4 separate regions of the Homo sapiens genome follow, and regions 1, 2 and 3 are each linked to region 4. The links are contacts of gene promoters, found by promoter capture Hi-C in blood cells and fetal thymus (Javierre and others, 2016). All regions are on one chromosome and are shown on one strand. Each heading gives the region's core, a stretch centred on a gene start or on the middle of the fragment in contact. The rest is flanking DNA. Distances are from core to core; before and after follow the strand shown. Region 1 overlaps CHP1 (calcineurin like EF-hand protein 1). Region 2 has its middle 7.9 kb from the start of TRS-GCT4-2. Region 3 has its middle 47 kb from the start of CHST14. Region 4 holds the start of SPINT1 (serine peptidase inhibitor, Kunitz type 1).

Region 1 (2,755 bases), core at 3-2,502, 410 kb after region 4:
ATCTCTTGACCTCGTGATCCACCTGCCTCAGCCTCCCAAAGTGCTGGGATTACAGGCGTGAGCCACTGTGCCCGGCCTTCGGATGGATCTTATGCTTGTGGTGTTTAGGCCACTTTGGAGTATTTATTTTTTTCTATTAGGTTTATGTTGATGGGTAAATTTGAGAATCTAAGTTTTAGAGAAACTGCCCAGATCTACATTCTACTATAAAGCAACCAGTAATAATAACTTGTTCGTATATTATTTATTTAACAGTTGACAAAGTATTTATTTATTTATTTATTTATTTATTTATTTATTTATTTATTTATTTTGAGACGGAGTCTTGCTCTGTCACCAGGCTGGAGTGCAGTGGCGCAATCTTGGCTCACTGCAACCTCCACCTCCCAGGTTCATGCCATTCTCCTGCCTCAGTCTCCCGAGTAGCTGGGACTACAGGTGCCCGTCACCACGCCTAGCTAATTTTTTGTTTTTTTAGTAGAGACGGGGTTTCACCGTGTTAGCCAGGTTGGTCTTCATCTCTTGACCTCATGATCCTCCCGCCTCGGCCTCCCAAAGTGCTGGGATTACAGGTGTGAGCCACTGCGCCCGGCTGACAAATTATTTTTTATACTCTTTCTGTTTGTTTTGTTTTTTCTGTTTTGAAACAGGGTCTCACTCTGTCACCCAGGCTCGAGGGCAGTGATGTTACCATGGCTCCTTGCAGCCTTGACCTTCTAGGCTCAAACAATCCTCCCGCTTCAGCTTCCCAAGTAGCTGGGACTACAGGCACGTGCCACCATGCCTGGCTAATTTTTTTTTTTTTTTTAAACTTTTTAGAGATGTGGTCTTGCTCTGTTGCCCAGGCTGGTCTCGAACTCCTAGCCTGAAGCAGTTCTTCCACCTTGGCCTCCAAAAGTGCTGGGATTATAGGCTGAGCTGCCATACCCAGCCCTCTTTCTTTTTAACTTTAATACTTTTAGCAATACTGTCCTTGATCTGGGTGACTGGAACTACATTATATATACAATCTAAATTCTAAGAGTAGAGTTAGAAAGTATCAAAGGACAGGTCCATCGGAAGGCCAAGTGTACACCTCCTTATTGAGACTGAAGTTCAGGCTAGGTTGTGCATCACCACTTGATACTAGACTTGGTATTTAAACTGCCTTTTCTCAGCTAAAGTTTCTTAAGCTTGTTAGACATTAAACTGAAGTATGTAGCCATGCAATTCAAATCAGCCTTAGTCTTAATTTAAAAGTGAGTAGTTATTGTTTCTTGACCTCTGTCAGACAGGAGGAGCTACATTTTGATGATAGTGTAGACTTTGTATTACAGAACAAATTATGTAATAAAAGCTTAGTACATGTTTGTTGAATTAAATAATCAGGACCTCGGTAATTTTCTCTTTCATCATCTTAAGCAATCCAGTTATCTTATGAATGACTTCTTCTGGTTCATGCATTGATATAAAATTATTACACTAAATGGTCAAGAAGGACTAGAATCCAGGATGATTGTTCCAGAGCTTTGTGTTCAGTCCACTAGGTCAGTTTCTACCTGTGTCACCAAATGTGGTGGAGAAGAGCTTGCTGAGTTAATTAAGCACCACGTAAACGTTAAACCACAAGAGGAAAAGAGCGTGAAGTCTCCTGGGTACAGTAGGAGTATTTTATTATCTTCCGTCTTTGCTAGCATATATTACAAAGAGGGTGGAGGTATACATTTTATCTGTCTGTAAGTAAACTTCTTGAAGGCAGGAGTAAAATCTAGTTTATAATCTTTTTTTTAACTTTTTATCTGGAAATAATTTTAAACTTGAAGTTACAAGAACAATACAAGATAACTTTTATTCTGATACCCAGATTCACCAATTGTTAACATTTTGTCACATACTTCACTGTTTATTTCCTATAGAAAGGACATTCTCAGATCAAAATCAAGAAAGTTGCATTTTGAAACAGTACCATTATGTAATATTCCATATTTTATATGGTCCATGCTTCATTTTCACATATTATCCAATAATGTCCTTATAGCAGTTTTTTTCCTAGTCCGGGATCATGTGTTGGGTTTTGTTGTGTGTCTCTTTAGCCCCCCCTTGATCTGGAACAATCCTCTGCTTTTCTTTGTCCTCCATGACATTGATATTTTTGAAGACTGCAGCACAGATAAGTTGTAGACAGCTTTGTATTCTTGGCCCAGGAACCAACAAAAGAAAGTTTTTAAAAAATACTTATTGAAAAATTGGGGGACTGGGTGCGGTGGCTCACGCCTGTAATCCCAGGACTTTGGGAGGCTGAGGTGGGTGGATCACCTGAGGTCAGGAGTTCAAGACCAGCCTGGCCAATGTGGTAAAACCCCACCTCTACTAAAAATACAAAAATTGGCCGGGCATGGTAGCACCCGCTTGTAATGCTAGCTACTTGGGAGACTGAAGCAGTAGAATCGCTTGAACCCGGGAGGAGGAGGTTGCAGTGAACCCAGAGATCAAGCCACTACACTCCAGCCTGGGAGCGAAACTCCATCTCAAAAAAATAAAAATAAAGAATTTGGGGGAGAGTAACTTTCATTCAAAAGGTTCAATATTAGGGCTGGGCACCGTGGCTCACTCCTGTAATCCCACCCAGCACTTTGGGAGGCCGAGGCCGGCAGATCACCTGAGGTCAGGAGTTCAAGACCAGCCTGGCCAACATGGTGAAACTCCGTCTCTACTAAATGTACAAAAAACTAGCCAGGCGTGGTGGAGAGTGCCTGTAATCCCAGCTACTTGGGAG
Region 2 (2,875 bases), core at 336-2,835, 260 kb before region 4:
ACTCACATATTCTAGAACATAGGATTATTGAAAACCAAAGACAGAAGCAGAACAGCCATGGAATGTGACCAGTTTTTAGTTGGGTAAGTTTACTGTGGTCCTGACGAGGTATCATCACCAAAGGCACTCATTCTGCTTAGAACACTGTCTTGTACATGGTGAACAATATTGTCTATGATTATGATTTTTGTTTTCTTCCCCTCCAAGTCCTCTGTCATCCTCTTCTTTTCATTTGAAGCTTGTCCACGTTTTCAAAACTGCAACATTTTTGTCAACCATTAACTAGGTGAAAACAGTTAAGAATTGCCTACTAAAGTTGAACACACACATAACCAATGACTCTACTTCTAGCTATCTACCTACAGAAACACTTGTACATGTGCCCCAAGAGACATATAAAAACAGTCACAGCAGTGTTCTTGCAGCAAAAGACTGGAGATAACAAAAATATCCATCAATAAGAGAATGGATACCTAATTGTATGTTCAGATAATTGCAAACTAATCAGCAGTGAAAATGAACGAATTATACGGATAAAACAGTGTCCAGTGACAGAAGTTACAGATGAATACGTTATATAAAATGAATACATTATATAAAATTAAAAAACAGACAAAACATATTTAAGACTACAAATATGTATAAATATGTATATTTGGTAAGAAAAACAAGAGAATGATTAACATGAAATTCAGAAAAGTTGTTATCTTTGCCAGACACGGTGGCTCACGCCTGTAATCCCAGCACTTTGGGAGGCCAAGGCAGGTGGATCACGAGGTCAGGAGATCGAGACCATCTTGGCTAACACGGTGAAACCCCGTCTCTACTACAAATACAAAAAATTAGCCAGGCGTGGTGACATGCACCGCAATCCCAGCTTCTCGGGAGGCTGAGGCAGGAGAATCGCATGAACCCGGGAGGCGGAGTTTGCAGTGAGCCGAGATCGCGCCACTGCACTCCAGCCGGGGGCGACAGAGTGTGACTCCGTCTCAAACAAACAAACAAACAAACAAACAAAAAGTAGTTACCTTTTTTTTTTTTGGAAATGGAGTCTCACTCTGTCTCCCTGGCTGGAGTGCAGTGGCGGGATCTTGGCTCACTGCAACCTCCGCCTCCCAGGTTCAAGCGATTCTCCTGCCTCAGCCTCCCGAGTAGCTGGGATTATAGGCGCCCGCCACCACGCCTGGCTAATTTTTTGTATTTTTTTTTTTTTTAGTAGAGACAGGGTTTCACCATATTGGTGAGGCTGGTCTCAAACTCCTGACCTCGTGGTCTGCCTGCCTCATCCTCACAAAGTGCTGAGATTACAGGCGTGAGCCACTGTGCCCGGCCAAAGTAGTTATCTTTTTGGTGGGAGGATGCCTCCAGGAAGGGACACACAGGAAGCATCAAAGGTGCTAGTAATCTGCCACCTGCCAAGAGGGTAGGAAAAAAAAATTAAAATAATTAAAAATCATTTTTTAAAAAAGAAACAAAGGGGCTGGTAATGTTCTATTTCTCAAGCTGGGTGGTGTATATACAGCATTGCTGTTTTTTTCTTTCTTTCTTTCTTTCTTTTTTTTTTCGGAGACAAGGTCCTGCTCTGTTGCCCAGGCTGGATTGCAGTGGCACGATCATGGCTCACTGTACTCTCGACCTCCCAGGTTCAAGTGATCCTCCCACTTCAGCCTCCTGAGTAGCTGGGACCGCAGCACACACCAGCACACCCAGCTAATTTTTGCATTTTTGGTAGAGACAGGGTTTTGCCATGTTTCCCAGGCCTGTCTGGAACTCTTGGGCTCAAGTGATTCACCCATTTGAGCCTCTTGAGTAGCTGAGAATATGGGTGCATACCACCACACCTGGCTAATTTTTAATATTTTGTAGAGACAGAGTCTCACTGTGTTACCTAGGCTGGTCTCGAACTACTGGCCTCAAGCGATCGTCCCCAACCTTGGCCTCCCAAAGTGCTGGGATTACATGTGTGAGCCACTGCACCTGGCCTTATTATTGTTATTTTTAAACTGTACATGCATATTACATTACGTATGTATGTATTGTATAATTGTGTAATACTATCAAGATAAAACTTTTAAACAACAAATATTAAAATATCTCACCTCTTTTTTTTAACATTTGGTTATCTCTGAAATAGTGACTCTCCTCTTTCAGTCCCACTGCACAACTCTTTAAGATCCATTTGACCTTCACACAGCTGGTGGGTGCTACTCCAAAGTGCCTAGACCATGGGTTGTTTTCACCAGTGGTGGAAAGATAACACCATACACCTAGTATTTTGGAGACTATAATGGTAAGCAATAATTAATAATTTGCAAAAATGGGCCAGGCGCTTGGTGGCTCACACCTATAATCCCAGCACTTTGGGAGGCTGAGGTGGGCGGATCATGAGGTCAGGAGATCGAGACCATCCTGGCTAACACGGTAAAAGCCTGTCTCTACTAAAAATACAAAAAAAAAATTAGCCAGGCATGGTGGCGGGCGCCTGTAGTCCACCTACTAGGGAGGCTGAGGCAGGAGAATGGCATGAACCCAGGAGGTGGAGCTTGCAGTGAGCTGAGATAGCGCCAGTGCACTCCAGCCTGGGCGACAGAGCAAGACTCCGTTTCAAAAATAATAATAATAATAATTTGCAAAAATGACTAACTGCTTTAATTTGCCTTAGCAGATTCAAATACAACTTCTCCATCATAAAAGAACTGAGGGATCTAAAAGCAGTTCATGGCTTTGGAATTCTAGACCCCGCATGCTCTCCGACACAAAGAGCCCAAGAACTTGCATCTTCTATCTCTTCATTACCAAGACATCTAGACAAAAGGTTCTTGAAAATGTTTTAGTAATTCAAGTAAATAATAAGTGATGCAATTATTCTGGTTCT
Region 3 (2,840 bases), core at 73-2,572, 330 kb before region 4:
TATGGATACAGCAAGGCTCTTCTGTGATGAAAGAAATAATATTGCTGACATATGTGTTTATATTTTAATTAGCTTTCTCTGAGTTACACTGTAGTAACAAATAACCCAAAACTCTTAGTGGCTTACAGTAAGAAGGGTTTATTTCTTATGCACATTTTATGTCGGCTGTGGTCATTGGTGGTTCTGCTCTGTGTTGTCCTCTCCATTCTGGGATCTGGGCAGAAGATGTAGCCTCTATTTGAAATATGTAATCCTCATGGCAGAGGGAAAAGGAAAGTGATAGAAGTCTGCCATAGTTCTTAAACCTTCTGCAGGGAAAAGCATAGTCATTTCCACTTACATTTATTGGCCACCTCAAGTCGTGTGACCATGCCCGCCATTAATGGGACAGTGAAGTGTATTCCTCCTAAAAAGGAGTGCCGCAAGTCACATAGCAAAAGGAGAGGACGTATAATCACCTCACAGGAAAGGATAGAATAAATCAGAACCAATAATGCAACCAACTATGGTAGAATTCTTTTTTTTTTTTAATTGAAACAGAGTTTCACTCTTGTTGTCCAGGCTGGAGTGCAGTGGTGCGATCTCGGCTCACTGCAACCTCCGCCTCCCAGGTTCAAGCAATTCCCCTGCCCCTTCTGAGTAGCTAGGATTACAGGCGCCTGCCACCACGCCTGGCTAATTTTTTGTATTTTTAGTAGAGACGGGGTTTCACCATGTTGGCCACACTGGTCTGGAACTCCTGACCCCAGGTGATCCACCCGCCTCGGCATCCCAAAGTGCTGGGATAACAGGTGTGAGCCACCGCACCCAGCCGGTAGAATTATTTTATACAGGTTCTCTGCACCAACCTTCCAATTTACAGAAAACAGAGAGGGCCAGAGGAACAAGTTAAACAACACCATGAAGAAACACTCACTCAATCCAAAATGTGGAACATTCTGTAAGAAAGCTGGCCTGGAGTCTTCAAAAAGACAATGTTATAGAAAAAGAAAGAAGCGACTCTTCCAGCTTAAAGGATACAACAATTCATAAGCTTGGATTGAATCTGATTTTTAAAAATCTATAATTAGGGACAATTGGGTAAAATGTTATATAAACTAAATATTAGATGATATTAGAGAATTATTGTTAACTTTTTAGGCATGATAATGATTTTGTAGTTATGTAGGGGAATGTCCCTCTTTTAGGAGATACATGCAAATATATTCAGAGGTGAAGTGACATAACATTTGCAATTTACTTTCAAAAGGTTAAGCAAAAAAGTATTCATGGCTGGGCATGGTGGCTCATGCCTATAATCCCAGCACTTTGAGAGGCCGAGGTGGGCAGATCACCTGAGGTCGGGAGTTCAAGACCAGTCTGACCAACATGGAGAAACCCTGTCTCCACTAAAAATACAAAATCAGCTGGGCGTGGTGGCGCATGCCTGAAATCCCAGCTCCTCGGGAGGCTGAGGCAGGAGAATCATTTGAACCCAGGAGGCGGATGTTGTGGTGAGCCGAGATTGCGCCATTGCACTCCAGCCTGGGCAACAAGAGAGAAACTCCATCTCAAAATATATATATATATTTATAAAGAGAGAGAGCAAAGTTGTATAATGCCTAAAATGTTGAAGCTTGGTGGAGAGTGGAGGGGTGTTAATACTATTCCTTCAAATTTGCTGTTTTTAAAATTCGTAAAAATAAAAAAATAGGAGAAGTATATAGGTGTAGTTGTGATTAATAAAAATAAAGCGGCAGAGTGCAGTGGCCTCACACCTGTAATCCCAGCAGTTTGGGAGTCTGAGGCGGGGTGGATCACGAGGTCAGGAGTTTAATACCAGCCTGACCAACATGGTAAAACCCCGTCTCTATTAAAATCAGAAAAATTAGCCAGTCATGGTGGTGGGCGCCATTAATCCCACTACTCAGGAGGCTGAGGCAGGAGAATCCCTTGAACCCAGGAGGCGGAGGTTGCAGTGAGCCGAGACTGCACCATTGCACTCCAGCCTGGGCAACAGAGCGAGACTTGGTCTCAAAAAATAAATAAATAAATAAATAAAGCTCACTTTAAAATGTTTCTGAATTTATCTTAAACAAAGTAACATGAGGAGAAAAAGAAAAATTATTTTGAAAAAGAATAAAATGTTTCTGAACTTATAGTATTTTTTAAATCGTTATAATTTTCTCTATTGGTTTAATCTCCACTAACATATGAGGAGAAAGCCCTTAATTTTTATTTTATTTTATCTTAATTTTTTTAGAGACAGCGTCTCAGTCTGTCAACCAGGCTGGAGTGCAGTGCCACGATCATAGCTCACTGTAGCCTCAAACTCCCAGCACTGTGGGAGGCTGAGGCAGGAGGATCACTTGAGCCCACGAATTTGAAGCTGTAGTGAGCTATGATCACGCTACTGCACAAAGTGAGACCCCGTCTCAAAAAAATTAAAAATAAATAAATAAGGTAGAAAGCCTCCTAATTAAGCCTTTCTGGAAAGTCTTAACTAATATACTGTATTATATGAAACACCTTACAAACTTCATATCCACTTTGTCTTGGGAATTTAACTAAGAAAAGAACCGTGGATTTCTGTAAAGATTCAGCAACAAGGAAGTTCATCCCAGCATTATTTACTTCAGTGAAAAAAAAATGGGTATAATTTAAGTGTTCCAACAATAGTTGGTTAAATAAACTATGGCCCAGTCACCCAAAGAAAGGAATACAATACAGCCATCAAAAATTATGTTGTGGGCCGGGTGTGGTGGCTCATTCCTGTAATCCCAGCATTTTGGGAGGCTGAGGTGGGTGGATCATTTGAGGCCAGGAGTTTGAGACCAGCCTGAGCAACATGCGAAACCCCG
Region 4 (2,792 bases), core at 3-2,502:
AATAAATAAATAAAGATTCTTGAATGTGTTAGCCATAAGGGGAAATCAAATCACAACAAAACCCTTTCTTCCCAGTGACTGCACAATCATTTTCTTCATTCCCAGCATACCACCATTGTTGTATATCCACCAGTGTGCCAGGGTCTGTGGATAAACCCTAAACATCCAGAGAAGGGGAGACAGGCCCCAGATTCCCACCCCAACACGCATCATGTGAGCAGCTGGAGGATGTTGCAGTTCAGCAAAATCCAAGGGTTGGCCACAGGATCTGCTAGGCAAAGCTGCTCTGGATGAGAAACTGGGAAGAATGTTCCCATTGGTTTGGGGGTTGTTAAGCCATCAGGAAAAGGTTTGGAATCTGTATTTTAAGAGAGCATGCTATGTGATTCCTTCCTCCAGCCCTGCCTTCATCTGTCTTTCACCTGTTCAGACCCTTGCCGTAGAGAATGGTCTCTTAAGAGTTTTTTACTCAGGAGGAGCAATGAGCTTGGCTTCAAGGAGTCCACTGTTTCGTGAAGGGCATTAACTCAGCTACTTGGTGAACTGGAACCTCCAGGCTTCCAAGGATGACATTTCCCTGGAAGAAAGTAGCCAGCAGCGTCCCCTTTGTGAAAGAGAGGAAGCCTGGGCTCCAGGGAAGGGGGCAACAGTCCAATGAGCCATAGCAGGGAATGGACCGAACTGTACATACAAGATGAGGAGGGGCCTCGAACAACAGGGAAGCCCCGTGGAGCACGCAGGGGAGCCTGGACGCGGGGAATCGCCTCCGTTTCTCACCCTGACAGCAGGGAGGGCTTCCCGGAGCTGACAGTGAGGCAGACATCCCGGATCCCTGTTATCACAGGTGCAGCCACGCAACTTTTGGGTTACCTTCCCGCCACGAAATGGAAATGATTTCCTGAGGGCCGGAAAGATCATTTGCATCGGGCCTCAGGTCTGGGGCTGGGAAAGCAGGCCCCGGCCGGAAAGGAAGACTGGAGGCCGCCGCCCCAGAGGCCGGACCCTCGCGTCCCGGCCGCATCCCCTCCCGGCTGGGTATGCGCTTCGGGCGCGGGGCTCCCTCGCGAGGCTGGACTGGGTGGAGCCCGAGAGCCCCTCCGGGGAGCTGGCTGCCGGGGAGGCACCGGGGCTGCGGGGCCGCGGGGCGGGCCGGGCCTGGAGCTCCGCGCTAGAGGCGGCCGCAGCGCACCGGGCGTGGGCGGGGCCGGCAGCGCAAGGGTGAATGTCGGCCCCGCCCCGACGGCGCTGACTCAGTTTCACCAGAAACCAGGGGGAGAAGGCGGCCGAGCCCCAGCTCTCCGAGCACCGGGTCGGAAGCCGCGACCCGAGCCGCGCAGGAAGCTGGGACCGGAACCTCGGCGGACCCGGCCCCACCCAACTCACCTGCGCAGGTAACCCGGGCCCCCGCGCGCAAGGCCGAGGCGCAGGCGGAGCGGGCTGGAGCATGTCCGGCCCTTTGTTCTGCGCTCGTGCGTGTGTCCGGGTACTTGAGCTCCCTAGCGGTCCGCCTGTCCGTCTGTCTGGCTGCCGGGTCCCTGGAGGGCGCGTGGGAGGGCCGGGCCCGTGCGCCCTCTTCGATCCTGGGGTGCTCCGGTCCCTCCTCCCCGCCACTTCCTCCCGGCCGGCCCGCCTCCTCCAAAGTCTCCCGGGCTGATCAGGTGTGTCTCCTCCTCTGTCCCCTCCCTTCTTCTCAGGTCACCAGCACCCTCGGAACCCAGAGGCCCGCGCTCTGAAGGTGACCCCCCTGGGGAGGAAGGCGATGGCCCCTGCGAGGACGATGGCCCGCGCCCGCCTCGCCCCGGCCGGCATCCCTGCCGTCGCCTTGTGGCTTCTGTGCACGCTCGGCCTCCAGGGCACCCAGGCCGGGCCACCGCCCGCGCCCCCTGGGCTGCCCGCGGGAGCCGACTGCCTGAACAGCTTTACCGCCGGGGTGCCTGGCTTCGTGCTGGACACCAACGCCTCGGTCAGCAACGGAGCTACCTTCCTGGAGTCCCCCACCGTGCGCCGGGGCTGGGACTGCGTGCGCGCCTGCTGCACCACCCAGAACTGCAACTTGGCGCTAGTGGAGCTGCAGCCCGACCGCGGGGAGGACGCCATCGCCGCCTGCTTCCTCATCAACTGCCTCTACGAGCAGAACTTCGTGTGCAAGTTCGCGCCCAGGGAGGGCTTCATCAACTACCTCACGAGGGAAGTGTACCGCTCCTACCGCCAGCTGCGGACCCAGGGCTTTGGAGGTGAGGAGGGTGCCAAGATGGATGGGTTTGGAGAGACTCAAAAAAGGGACTGGTTATGGGGTCCTAGGGGAGACGAACATCAGAGAGGAGTTAAGGAGAGTTCACTTTTTTTTTTCTTTTTCTTTCTTTTTTTTTGCGACGGAGTCTCGCTCTTGTCGCCCAGGCTGGAGTGCAATGGCGCAATCTCTGGTTGCTCACTGCAACCTCCGTCTTCCACGTTCAAGTGATTCTTCTGTCTCAGCCTCCGGAGTAGCTGGAACTACAGGCACCCGCTACCAGACCCGGCTAATTTTTTTTTTTTTTTTTTTTTTTTTTTTTTTGGTACAGACGGGGTTTCACTATGTTGGCCAGGCTGGTCTTGAACTTCTGAACTCAGGTGATCCACCCACCTTGGCCTCCCAAAGTGCTGGGATTATTTCTACCTGAAGCCCTCCTTAGAAGTAGGCAGTACAGCCGAATCAAGCCTGGTGATCAATGGGGTGACAGATGTCACAGCCAGATCGCCTTCACATCGGTAGTAGGCAGTACAAACAGTAAACAAATGAAAGGGGACATGAG

What was found. Contacts are between HindIII fragments. The CHiCAGO score rates a contact against its expected background, and 5 or more counts as called.
Region 1: a contact is called between a fragment that was not itself captured here and the fragment with the promoter of SPINT1 in region 4, in 1 of 17 cell types (total B cells). The highest score is 5.3, in total B cells.
Region 2: a contact is called between a fragment that was not itself captured here and the fragment with the promoter of SPINT1 in region 4, in 2 of 17 cell types (endothelial precursors and M1 macrophages). The highest score is 6.2, in endothelial precursors.
Region 3: a fragment that was not itself captured here is called in contact with the fragment with the promoter of SPINT1 in region 4 in 1 of 17 cell types (endothelial precursors); the score reaches 5.3 in endothelial precursors.

What each region holds. Positions count from the first base shown.
Region 1 is chr15:41,253,160-41,255,914 of GRCh38, forward strand. All of the region lies in intron 2 of CHP1 (calcineurin like EF-hand protein 1), which reads left to right. Among named protein-coding and RNA genes, the nearest start is that of CHP1, 23 kb to the left of the region's middle. The HindIII fragment of the contact is 164 bases long and covers 1,171-1,334 here.
Region 2 is chr15:40,584,564-40,587,438 of GRCh38, forward strand. No RefSeq gene overlaps it. Among named protein-coding and RNA genes, the nearest start is that of TRS-GCT4-2, 7.9 kb to the right of the region's middle. The HindIII fragment of the contact is 2,698 bases long and covers 237-2,875 here.
Region 3 is chr15:40,516,467-40,519,306 of GRCh38, forward strand. No RefSeq gene overlaps it. Among named protein-coding and RNA genes, the nearest start is that of CHST14, 47 kb to the left of the region's middle. The HindIII fragment of the contact is 582 bases long and covers 1,032-1,613 here.
Region 4 is chr15:40,842,796-40,845,587 of GRCh38, forward strand. SPINT1 (serine peptidase inhibitor, Kunitz type 1) reads left to right here and starts at 1,253. Exons shown (of 11, transcript NM_003710.4): 1 at 1,253-1,391; 2 at 1,695-2,234. The coding sequence starts at 1,760. SPINT1-AS1 (SPINT1 antisense RNA 1) reads right to left here and starts at 1,729. Exons shown (of 2, transcript NR_146468.1): 1 at 1,384-1,729. RefSeq lists silencers at 691-873, 1,035-1,264, 1,345-1,404, 1,695-1,934 and an enhancer at 826-1,397. The HindIII fragment of the contact is 21,246 bases long and covers 1-2,792 here.